2 separate regions of the Homo sapiens genome follow, and region 1 is linked to region 2. Evidence: promoter capture Hi-C in human tissues and cell types (Jung and others, 2019). All regions are on one chromosome and are shown on one strand. Each heading gives the region's core, a stretch centred on a gene start or on the middle of the fragment in contact. The rest is flanking DNA. Distances are from core to core; before and after follow the strand shown.

Evidence for each region. Contacts are between HindIII fragments. The study calls those that stand out against the background at their distance.
Region 1: a fragment that was not itself captured here is called in contact with the fragment with the promoter of FOXL2 in region 2 in 2 of the 25 tissues and cell types used here (lymphoblastoid cells and mesendoderm cells).

What each region holds. Positions count from the first base shown.
Region 1 is chr3:138,699,918-138,707,231 of GRCh38, reverse strand. PIK3CB (phosphatidylinositol-4,5-bisphosphate 3-kinase catalytic subunit beta) reads left to right here. Exons shown (of 24, transcript NM_006219.3): 11 at 1-73; 12 at 2,739-2,789. Among named protein-coding and RNA genes, the nearest start is that of FAIM, 95 kb to the right of the region's middle. The HindIII fragment of the contact is 9,160 bases long and covers 1-7,314 here.
Region 2 is chr3:138,944,467-138,949,480 of GRCh38, reverse strand. It overlaps FOXL2 (forkhead box L2), which reads left to right and starts at 2,344. Exons shown (of 1, transcript NM_023067.4): 1 at 2,344-5,014. The coding sequence starts at 2,759. The coding sequence ends at 3,889. FOXL2NB (FOXL2 neighbor) reads right to left here and starts at 2,264. Exons shown (of 3, transcript NM_001040061.3): 1 at 2,017-2,264. The coding sequence starts at 2,116. RefSeq lists a silencer at 2,100-2,328 and an enhancer at 4,369-4,958. The HindIII fragment of the contact is 6,167 bases long and covers 1-5,014 here.

The sequences.
Region 1 (7,314 bases), core at 2,365-4,864, 240 kb after region 2:
AAATGCAACAGCTTTGCATGTTAAATTTCCAGAGAATAAAAAACAACCTTATTATTACCCTCCCTTCGATAAGGTAAGCTAATTATTTAAAGGACCTCTATGCATGAAATGATTGAATGATCAGTTCCTCTATGTATAGTTTAAGCTCTATCTGTCTCTTTCAAAACTTCCCATACAGTGACAGCTTTGTTGAGTGGGAAGACCATGGATCAGGGAGCCTTCTTAACTCTGTTAGTTTTGGTTTTATCACTGACTAAGTAAGAAAAGGTACCTCCAGGCCGGGCGCAGTGGTTCACGCCTGTAATCCCAGCACTTTGGGAGCCCGAGGTGGGTGGATCACCTGAGGTCGGGAGTTCGAGACCAGCCTGACAAACATGGAGAAGCCCTGTCTCTACTAAAAATACAAAATTAGCTGGACATGGTGGCACATGCCTGTAATCCCAGCTACTCGGGAGGCTGAGCAGGAGAATTGCTTGAACCCGGGAGGCGGAGGTTGCAGTGAGCCAAGATCGTGCCATTGCACTCCAGCCTGGGCAACAAAAGCAAAACTCCGTCTCAAAAAAAAGAGAGAGAGAAAAGGCATCTCTGGAGTTCACTTTTCTTATTTATAAAATGAAGAAATCATAATTGTTCTATTTTTTAATATCTCACGCCCTTAAAGGGCTATAAATATATTCATATGTAACTGAATACATAAAATGTTGTTTCAAATATTAAAGGTATAGTCACTGCTGTATTAGAATTGATACTCAAAGAACAATTGATTTTTGTTGAATATGTCTGTTAGTGGCGCTTCCTAATGTAGTTATTTTATAGAATCTATAGTAAGGACTTCATTTCTAAATATATTTCTTTAATATACACACTGCATGTCTTGGGGATAAAGAGATTATCTAATGGGGGCTAAATATAGGGCTATGGTAATTTACATGCTAAGAGAGCTGAGCTGTCATATATTTTATCTTTAGGTTTGGCATGGTGTTTTTTATTTTAAAAAATGGAGTATTTCTCTGTCATCCAGGCTGGAGTGCAGTGGCACAATTATTGAGCCTCAAATTACTTGCCTCAAGCAACTGTCCTGCCTCAGCATCCCTGGTACTGGGATTACAAGTGAGAGCCACTGCACCTGGTAGTGTTGATTTTTATAAGGAAATCTTTGAACAAATTCTCAGAATTTAGGAGCCAGGCACCATGGCTCAAGCCTGTGATCCCATCAGCTTGGGAGTCTGAACCAGGAGGATAACTTGAGGCTAGGAGTTCAAGATAGCCTGGACAACATAGAGAGACCCTTGTCTGTACAAAAATTTAAAAGTTAGCTGGGTGTGGTGGCATGTGCCTATAGTCCTAGCTACTCTGGAGACTGAGGTAGGAGGACTACTTTAGCCCAGGAATTTCAGACTGCAGTGACCTATGGTCATGCCACTGTGCTCCAGCCTGGGCAACAGAGAGAGACCCTGTCTCTGGAGAAAAAAAAATGTTCAGAAAATAAGCTGAAAGTTTATTTAATTTCCTCAATCCGCTTGAGTACAAACTACCTTTGAAGATTGATATTATACTTTATAAATACTTAAGATAATCTACCTGTACATTTAAAGTATTAGCAAATTAAATTTATGTAATTCACTCTTTCTTCATTTTCATTATAATTGGATTTTATCCATCTAAGGAGTAATTTTTTATTTCAAGTTTTTTAAACATGTTTTTCTGAACAATAATTTACAACCAAATTAAATTTTGTGCTTATAATATAAATTTCAAATATGGCAAGAATCATATACGTTAGTATACACTGAGTAGAAAAAGCTACATTTTGACTCATCCAATACGTTTATGTAGTGTCTTTAGTTATTCCTTTGATAGAAATTTATCCATAAGCCATAGCTACTCGTGATATATTTAATAGTTTTAGCTGTGACTATTATCATGTTCAGTTATGATGTGTGTTCAACAGTTATAGGCTCTTTTGGCTCAAATGAAATGCTTTTTGAAGTACTTTTACAAATATAGCCTCCTATATTTGCAAATATAAGTTTTTTTTTTTGTTTGTTTTGTTTTTTGTTTTTTTTTTTTTTTTTTGCCTTTCTAATCTCTTGGAGAGTCTTTCTTGAAGAAGATCAGTTTGGGATAGAGATTTTAGTCTTTGAATATATATAAGCCAGGGACAGCAGCCTTTAGTCCCATCTGCTTGAGGCTGAGGTGGGATAATTGCCTGAGCCCAGGAGTTCAAGGCGAGCTTGGGCAACATAGACCCCATCTCAAAAACAAACAAAAAGTATGTAAATAAGTATATGCTTATTGATCTCCTTCAATTGTACAAGTTAGATATTGTCGTTACTTCTACTTTTGGTGTCTGTTAATTGAAGAAAAAACATAATGAGAAAAGTTTATTCTACAATTTAGTAACTCTTACATGTTTTTGTGTCTTCTTAACTAGAATACATTTACTTATACTTAAAAGAAAATTTTTGACATATATATGCTAGCTGGTACTTGTTTTATCTCCAGACAATTTTAGTGCTTCCTAGGAGTCATAATCCCTTATAGCAATACCATCATTTCCCTGTTGTCAAGAGTTTAAAGCACTTGAGAAGCATCATTTTGCTTTTAAAATTCATGTTTCTGTTACAAAGCATAGCAATGCCAGATCTTATGTAGTCTAAGTACAAATGTAGTCATTTACACTTAAAATTCTACAAATATGAGAGCCAAAATTCATTTTCTTTAATTTTTTTAAACAGATTATTGAAAAGGCAGCTGAGATTGCAAGCAGTGATAGTGCTAATGTGTCAGTAAGTATCAAGAGTTTTAAATGGCCCTTTCTTATGGAGTTGTGCACATTATTAGGTATCTTTGCCTCATAGTAATGAACTCACAGAAGACCGTAACTCATATGCAAGAACAGTCTGTGAGTGTGGGTAAGTATGCACATGATAGTGTTTTGTTAAATGGCAGCCCAATTTGTGGGTGATCTGGGTTCAGTGGGCAAGCCCTTTTCTGATACAAGTACAGGTTTAGCAGGTAATCTATAAGGGATTCTGTGGCACCTCATAGATTAACAATGCTGTCATAGTGAATATTATTTAGTTTAATGAGGAGACTGTATTTCTCTCAGGTAACAAAGCAGATTTAGTAATAGGCACACACATCATCATGCAAGTGACCCAAATTTCTTCCATCTTAGTGCTCTGCCATATTTAACATGTATTTTCTATTTCATGGTTTAATATTACTGCTTCAGCTTCCTACTTTACTATATTCCAGCCAGCAGGAACAGGAAAAACAATAGTAGTGGTCACACCCCATTCTTATTCAGGATATCATTAGTATGTATCATTTCTGCTTACATGTCATTGGCCAGATCTTACTGACCATGCCTAAGTACACACGCATCTGAGAGGTGCAGTCTTTAGCCACGCCATCAGTCATGCGCTTGGCTAAGAGTAAGAGATTCTAGTACTAAAGGAAGAAGTGGAGAATGGATATTGAGGGTCAAATAGTAGTCTCTGCCACATATACTATTCCCATTTGTTTCTATGCAGATACTACAAATAGGTTACTTTGTTGACTTGGGTTGCTATATTTATATCTATATCTACATCTATATATCTATATCTATATCTACATTTATATATCTATATCTATATCTACATATCTATATCTATATCTACATATATATATATAAATATGTATACCATCTGTGCTTTTTTATTTAATTTTTTGGCTCTTTCTAGTTTGACTTTGTTGAGCTGTAATCCAGTATTCTCGTCATCAGTTTACAACTTTTAAGTCTATTTAGCAAAGTCATTCTACCTGTAGCATGGCAGTGTTATAGAGACTAGGAGGCAAACTGGAGACAATGTGTATGTTTTTCCCATTCTCACAGAATCAAAGCACTATTTAATTTTGGCCAGTTGGTGAAATGTCTGGCCTAGGCTGTCTTCTCCTTTGCCATTAGAGCTCTCAGAATCTTTCCCTAGTTTCTCAGTGTGAGTCATCTGCTACTGCTTTCTTATTAGTGTTTTTGGCTTAAATTTTGTCTTTTGAATTTGAATGCTTGACCTTAGGAAAGAGAGCAGTAGTGCCAGACTCCTAGTCTTTACAGTTTACGAAAGGCTCTGGGCCAGTTTGGGACCATAATAGCCAAATTCTTCCTCTCTCTGTCTTTTTTCCCAAAGTTTTGTGTTATTCAGGTTTCTGGAGACAGTTTCAGATAATAATTTAATTTGTAAACATTGTGCAAATTTTAATAGCTTAAATTATATATATGGCCTGAAAAAAATTTGCATGATCAATTGATGAGGCTGGTGTGATAGGATCCTTGTGTTTGACTGCTTTTTCTTGCTGAGGATGTAGACTTGAGAATGGCCTGGAATCTCTAAGAAGTAAGAGTTTATTGAAAAAGTAAAACAGTAAAATAAAAGTGGAAGCAATCTCAGAGACTAGTGTAAAAAAATGTGTGTTTGTGTATAAATTTAAAAAATAAAAGAAAAACTTTAAAAAGAGACAACTGCAAGAGCAGTTACCTTTAATGATACAAAACAAATTTCTTACAGGTGTTAATTTATCAGCTTATTAGGCAATTACTGAAACAGATAATTACAGTTTAAGCTTAGGAGATATAGTTACACAGGCAGGTCTTGGTTCAAGTGCCTGTCTCATTACCCTTTATAAGACAATATTGCTCCTTGAACCTCAGATAAATGAATTAGTTTTTACTATTTCCACCATAAACTTGTACCTGACCTAAATCAGAGAGTTTGCTACACACTGAGCATGCAGTAATCTTGCCCAGGTCTGATATACCTTTACAATTTGTTTGTTTTTTATTAGGCACAAAGTACAATTAATAAATGGTAAGGATGGGTGTGATGGCTCACCCCTATAATCGCAGCACTTTGAGAGGCCAAGGTAGGAGGATTGCTTGAACCCAGGAATTTGAGAGCAGCCTGGGCCATACAGAGAGACCCCATCTCTACAAAAAAAAAAAAAAGTATTAACTGGGCGTGGTGGCATGGACCTGTAGTCCCAGCTACTTGGGAGGCTGAGGTGGGAGGATAGCTTGAGCCTGGGAAGTTGAGGCTGTTATGACAGAGTAAGACCCTGTATCTTTAAAAAAAAAAAAAAAAATTGTAAACCAAAAATGAAAGTTTCTCTCTGTGACTCCCACCTACCTTCCTCTCCAGAGCTAATTGTAAACAGTTTAATTTGTAGCTATCAATCCTAACTTTATATGTAAATATCTCCCCCTTTAAAATAAATGAGATCTATATATACATATATAAAACTATATATATATATAGTTTCTACTTTTTTCATTTAATATACTTTGTGGATATTGTCATGTGAGTATGAATAGGTCTACTTTTTAAAAAATACCTTTCTAACATTCCATAGCATTAATTACTAGTATCTATTAGATTTTTCTTTTTCTTTTTTTTTTTTTTTTTGAGACAGAGTCTCACTCTGTTGTCAGGCTGGAGTGCAGTGGCATGATCTCAGCTCACTGCAGTCTCTGCCACCCCGGGTTCAAGCGATTCCCCTGCCTCAGCCTCCCAAGTAGCTGGGACTACAGGCATGCGCCACCATGCCCAGCTAATTTTTTGTATTTTAGTAGAGATGGGGTTTCACCATGTTGGCCAGGATGGTCTCGATCTCTTGACCCCGTGATCTGCCCGTCTCGGCCTCCCAAAGTGCTGGGATTACAGGCGTCAGCCACCACGCCCGGCCACATCATGTCCTTTTACCCCTTAATTCTTCAGTATTTCCTTTAAAAAATGGCATTTTTATACATAACCTGAGTAGATTCATGAAGGTCAGGAAAATAATACTGATTCAGTTCTATATAATCTACAGATTTTATTCAAATTTAGCCAGTTTTCTCAGTCATGTGCTTTATAAGTCTTGGATCCAATCTCTGGTTACTTGCTGCATTTCATTGTCAGGTATATTTAGCTTCCTTCAGTCCGAAACAGTTCTTCAGTGTTTTTTTGTTTGTTTGTTTTTTGTTTTTTTTTTTTTAATCTTTAATGACTGACATTTCTGAAGACTATAGGCCAATTATTTTATAGAATATCCCTCAGTTTGGATTTGCCTGATGTTTTGTCATGTTTAGGATCCCAGTTATGCATTTTTAGTGTGAATATCAAAGAAGTAAAGGTGTAGTTTTCTTACTGCATTTTATCAGGAGGCAATATCGGCTTTTACCACTACTCTGGAAGTTAACTGTTATCCCTTGGTTAGTACGGTGTCTGCTAGGTTTTTCTAGTATAAAGTTAATAAATAAAGGTTTTGTGGGGGCGTATTTTGACACTAAGTAAACATTCTATTTCAGATCAAGCTGTCACCCACTTCTTTTTGCATTCACTAATACATCTTCCTTGAATCAGTGTTACTGCAGTGGGTTGCCAATTTTAAATCTTGCTTTTCGTTTTGGATTTATTAGTTGGCTTATAACATAGGTTAGAGGCTTTTCTTCTACTCTATCTCTATCTATCTATCTATCTATCTATCTATCTATCTATCTATCTATCTATCTATCTTTTTAGAGTCAGGGTCTTGCTCTGTTGCCCGGGCTGGAGTGCAATGGTACAGTCATAGCTCACTGCAGCCTTGAACTCCTCTTCTCCCCCATTCATCTCTTTTTTCTTTCTTCTTTTTTTTAACTTATAGGAGATGGATTTGTGATTTCCATTTATTCGATGATTTGTAATTAGTTACTGTCATTTATCTTAATGTTTAATTTATCCCAGATCTGGCTCATGGGAGCCCATTTAAGCTGTCTCTTGTCTCTTTTTGCTTTGTCCCTATCATTCTTTGAGCATTTCTTTCTTTCCGATACAACAGCGTATTCCACACTCATCTAGTACTTTCCCTACCCCAGCCTTGGAATCAGGCATTTCTCCGGAGAGTTTCATTTTTTATATTCAGTTTATTCCTTTTATTTGTGAAAAGTATGTAGGGATGGATGGATGGATGGATGGACGGACGGATAAACAAACGGATGGAATGGATTGACAGTGTCTCGCTTTGTTGCCCAGACTGGAGTGCAGTGACACGATCATGGCTCACTGCAGCCTCAACCTCCTGAGCTCAAGTGATCCTCCCACCTCAGCCTCCTGAGTAGCTAGAACTGCAAGCACATGCCACTATACCTAGCTATTTAAAAATTTTTTTTTAATTTCTATTTTTTTTAGTAGAATTAGGGGTCTCACTTTGTTGCCCAGGCTGTTCTTGAACTCCGGGGCTCAAGCAGTCTTCCTGCCTTAGCCTCACAAAGTGCTGGGATTACAGGCGTGAGCCACCATACCTGGCCTG
Region 2 (5,014 bases), core at 1,095-3,594:
AGCAGAACTCCTTTCTATTCTGAAAATCCTTCAGAGGAACTCCTTCATTTGCCCCCAACCCCTACACACACACACACACACACACACACGCACATGCATACACACACAGGCTCTTTAAAGGCTGAAAAGGGAGCCGAGTGTGGAATTCAGGGAAGTGATGACACACACAACAATGCTGTTACACCTGGCTGCTGCAGGGCTGAGCAGCGGAAATGCCTGTGAGAAGAAGAAAGAAAGACAGAGAGACGCAGAGAGCCAGCCTGGGTGGTCAAGAAAAAAAAAAAGGAGAGAAAAGGAGAGAGGAGCCCCCACCAGGATGGGGCCAGACCCAGCTGTTTTTCCCCCTGCCCAGGCCCTGGCTGGGGGAGGATAGGCACTGAGGCCAATCTGCAGCAGCCCCAAACCGGACTCACCACTCCCACCCAAAGCTTGGGCAAGGATGGGGGTAAGGAAGAAGAAAAACATCTGCACTCCTGCTCAGAAAGCAGCAGCAGGGATTCTGCGGAAGTGCTGCTTCCCCCATGTCTGTTGGGTGCAGTGGGAGACCGCCCATAAAAAAAACCAAGCTACTTTGGGGATAGCCTTGCTCCCTCTCATCCTTGTGACCAGGCAAGGGCTGCCCTGCTGACCTCTCTGGTGTCATCTTCAAGATGCTGAATTCCAAAGAGCCCTACCACCCTTGTCCTCCCTCCCTTTCATCTCAGAATGCAGATCAGAGGCCTGAGTGAGCAGCAGACAACACTTGTAGATGGCCTGTGGATGCTGGAACCACAGGCCGCTGAAGGCTCCTTGGGCTTCAGGAGAACCCTCAGAGTCTAAACAGCCTGGGAGGAAGAGGCAGTGACAGGCATTGAGTCAGCCACTCCAGACATGCCAATCACTAATGCACAGCTATATGACATCCATTCAGTCCACCTTCCTCCATAAGGTGGCCTTGCCCCCCTCCTCAGCACCAAGGAGTTTGGGGCTTGAGGATTCAAAACACTGGCCATCTCTCTCATACTTTATGACTGCAGACTTTTTGTTTAGGCCAAGTTAAAAGGCACTGTTAAGGAGCACACTGTTAAAAGGCACACCTGATTTTCCCTGAAACAATCTCTGTACATGCTGAAATAATTGGATTCCCATCAGAATTCTGCTTAAGGTAGGTGACAACTAACTCCTGATTCTTTGGAGAAAGATCAGAACAAATGTCTCATCAGGAGAGAGATTTGAACAAGTCCCTCCCTCAGCCTGATGTTTGTCTTCCCAGTCTGTGGCAAAATACATACACTGGGAGGGAAAGAGGCATCGAAGAATTGTGAAAGAAAGGAAGAAAGGGGGGAAGGAAAGAAGTAAGAAAGGAGAAAAAGAGAAGATGCTATATCCACCAGCTACATTTACTCTAATACTTGATGAACATATTACATAACTATCAGTATAAGTGTGTTTTACCTCGTAAATACAAATCTCACACCTTGTACATGTGCATACCTGTGTTTCTGAGCAGCACACATGCACCTGGTATCTCACCCATCTCAAGGACAGCTCCTCTCCATGACTTCCATATGTGACCCCTGTGCACACACATACACAGTCCCGCAAAGTCCCGGGCAACAGCCCCGCCTGTGTTAGTGCAATAGCTGAGGGGCATCTACTTGGTGCTGTTAAAGCACACATCCAACCTTCACTCCAACCCCGTAGGATTAGTACACGGATTCCTGGTTCCTAGATCCACTGGTAACGCAGGGAGAGGCAGAGGTGATTCAGGCGGCGCCCCTGACGACTATTTCCAGAGATCCTCTCCCCTGCCCCATTCCAGCCCAGTCACTCTGAGAGCGCGAGGGACAGGCCAGGCCGAGGCTTCTTCGTACAGTCACACCCGTTTCTGGGCTGACTTTCCCAAAGCCTCAGAGCAGCTCTCCCCACCCTACCCCGTCCAGCCCCCTCGCCGTCTCGCCCCTCCCCAGCCCCGAGCTAGAAGTTCAGCCTCAAGACGGCAGCAAACGGCAGAGCAAAGGAGTCGTTTTCTTTCACCTGAAAGCCGCGAGGAGGCTTGGAGCGCCTTTCCTCGCTGGGGCCCGAGCTTCCTGGGCTTTGGCCGGGTGCGGGCAGACCCCACCGGGGTCCTCGTCATCTCCCAGCCCAGCCCGCAGAGCGAGTACCGGCAGATTTCAAGGGCGCGTGAGCCTGGCTGTCGGCTGGGCCCCTGAGGCTCGCTGGGCGGGGGCAGGCCGGTCCAGGCTGTGCGGGGCGTTTACAAAAAGTGACTTGGAGATGAACTCGCCCGTGCGCGGCTGGCCGCCCCGCTATAGGGGCGAAGGCGCCTGACGCAAGCGGAACTCGGTGGAGCCCATACGAATCAGAACAGAGCGAGGCTCCTGGCGCACTAGGGACTCCAGGAGGCAGCTCCGCCAGAGACGCGGGTCGTGCTTCGGGAAACCGGGGGGCGGGGGGAGGGGAAGAGCGCAGAAAAGAAAACCCACCAAGGCGGGGACTGGCCTGAGCGGGGAGGGGCGGCGAGGCCGGAGCCCCTCTCTGTTGGGCGGACTCCCCATGGCCAGAGGCTGAGCTCCACTCCCGCCGGCCGCTCCCTAGGGGAAGGGGAAGGAGAGGGGAGAGCAGCGACAGGCCTCCAGCAAGCAAGCGCGGGCGGCATCCGCAGTCTCCAGAAGTTTGAGACTTGGCCGTAAGCGGACTCGTGCGCCCCAACTCTTTGCCGCGCCAGCGCCTGGAGCGGAGAGCAGAGGCGGCCCGGCCGCGGCGCGCCGGCTTTGTCATGATGGCCAGCTACCCCGAGCCCGAGGACGCGGCGGGGGCCCTGCTGGCCCCAGAGACCGGTCGCACAGTCAAGGAGCCAGAAGGGCCGCCGCCGAGCCCAGGCAAGGGCGGTGGGGGTGGCGGCGGGACAGCCCCGGAGAAGCCGGACCCGGCGCAGAAGCCCCCGTACTCGTACGTGGCGCTCATCGCCATGGCGATCCGCGAGAGCGCGGAGAAGAGGCTCACGCTGTCCGGCATCTACCAGTACATCATCGCGAAGTTCCCGTTCTACGAGAAGAATAAGAAGGGCTGGCAAAATAGCATCCGCCACAACCTCAGCCTCAACGAGTGCTTCATCAAGGTGCCGCGCGAGGGCGGCGGCGAGCGCAAGGGCAACTACTGGACGCTGGACCCGGCCTGCGAAGACATGTTCGAGAAGGGCAACTACCGGCGCCGCCGCCGCATGAAGAGGCCCTTCCGGCCGCCGCCCGCGCACTTCCAGCCCGGCAAGGGGCTCTTCGGGGCCGGAGGCGCCGCAGGCGGGTGCGGCGTGGCGGGCGCCGGGGCCGACGGCTACGGCTACCTGGCGCCCCCCAAGTACCTGCAGTCTGGCTTCCTCAACAACTCGTGGCCGCTACCGCAGCCTCCCTCACCCATGCCCTATGCCTCCTGCCAGATGGCGGCAGCCGCAGCGGCTGCAGCAGCTGCGGCTGCAGCCGCGGGCCCCGGTAGCCCTGGCGCGGCCGCTGTGGTCAAGGGGCTGGCGGGCCCGGCCGCCTCGTACGGGCCGTACACACGCGTGCAGAGCATGGCGCTGCCCCCCGGCGTAGTGAACTCGTACAATGGCCTGGGAGGCCCGCCGGCCGCACCCCCGCCTCCGCCGCACCCCCACCCGCATCCGCACGCACACCATCTGCACGCGGCCGCCGCACCGCCGCCTGCCCCACCGCACCACGGGGCCGCCGCGCCGCCGCCGGGCCAGCTCAGCCCTGCCAGCCCAGCCACCGCCGCGCCCCCGGCGCCCGCGCCCACCAGTGCGCCGGGCCTGCAGTTCGCTTGTGCCCGGCAGCCCGAGCTCGCCATGATGCATTGCTCTTACTGGGACCACGACAGCAAGACCGGCGCGCTGCATTCGCGCCTCGATCTCTGAGAGCCCACCGCATGCCGGTGCAGACGGATGCGAGGATGCAGGGACGCGCGACGCCGGCCCCGGTCGCAGCCGACGACGCCGCCGCCAGCCTGACCTCACACCCTCTGGGCCCGCCTCTGGAGCCAGCGCCCAGGGTCCCTCTGTGCTTTTTCGCTTTCCTAAGCTCCTGTCGCTCCTCTTTGTCCCCTCAGTTTATGTCCTCCTGTGCTCACCTCCCTGACCTCTGTGACCTTGCACTCCCCTGGCCTGAAGCTGCCTCTCTGCGCGCTTTCTACTGGGCTCGTCTCTTTCCGGAGCCCCAGCGTCTCCTGCCCAAATTCACCGCGGAAAGGGCCCGGGGCGGAGGTGCGACCGGGCGTCGGCAGCGCAGACCTCTTGGCCTTCTCTCACAGGTCGGTGCGCTCGCTCTCCGCGTTCCCCGCCCGACTGCCGTGCAGTCCATGGCTAGACGCGCCGGACAGGACTGATGGCGGGACCGCGCTGCCCGAGAAAGGGACGGACCAATACGTGTGTTTGCTCCGCGAACCCTCTTGAAGCTGTTCAGAAGCCGCTTGCCGCGGGGCCCACTAGGCGGGGCGGGGGTTGGGACCCAGCGGGAGCCGGGGCAGCCTGGCTCCACGGCCTGTACTCGGTTTACACCGCGGGCGGGCGCGGAGGGAGGCTGCGTTTCCTCCGCTATCAGTCCCGTCGCTTCGGGCACCTCCGGGCCCCGGCGGCTGGCTAATGTTTTGTTTGAAAGATCGGTGGAACTTTTTAAGAGAGTATTTAAAAAAAAAAAAAGGAAAAAAAATTCACCGGGCAACCGGGGAAGTATTGTGGCCTTGGAGTTTGCTAAATCCAAATATGAAAATCAAAAGCTTTAGTATTCCTCATCTTCTCTTCTGGAAGATTTGCGTTAGAGTTTTTGTTGGGCCTTCAAAAAGCTGTGTTCAGAGTTAGGAGAATATATCCAATAAAAGATGGTTTCGTCTACCAATTGGGGAAGTTTCACCCTCTCCCTATCTGAAGAAAAAAATCAAAAACAAATGTCCCCGGATCTTTCGATGCAAGTCCTGGAGGCAGGGAGATCACTGCCTGCCTGGCCCACGCTGCTGGGACGGCTCGTCCTCCCTGCTTTTTGTTTTT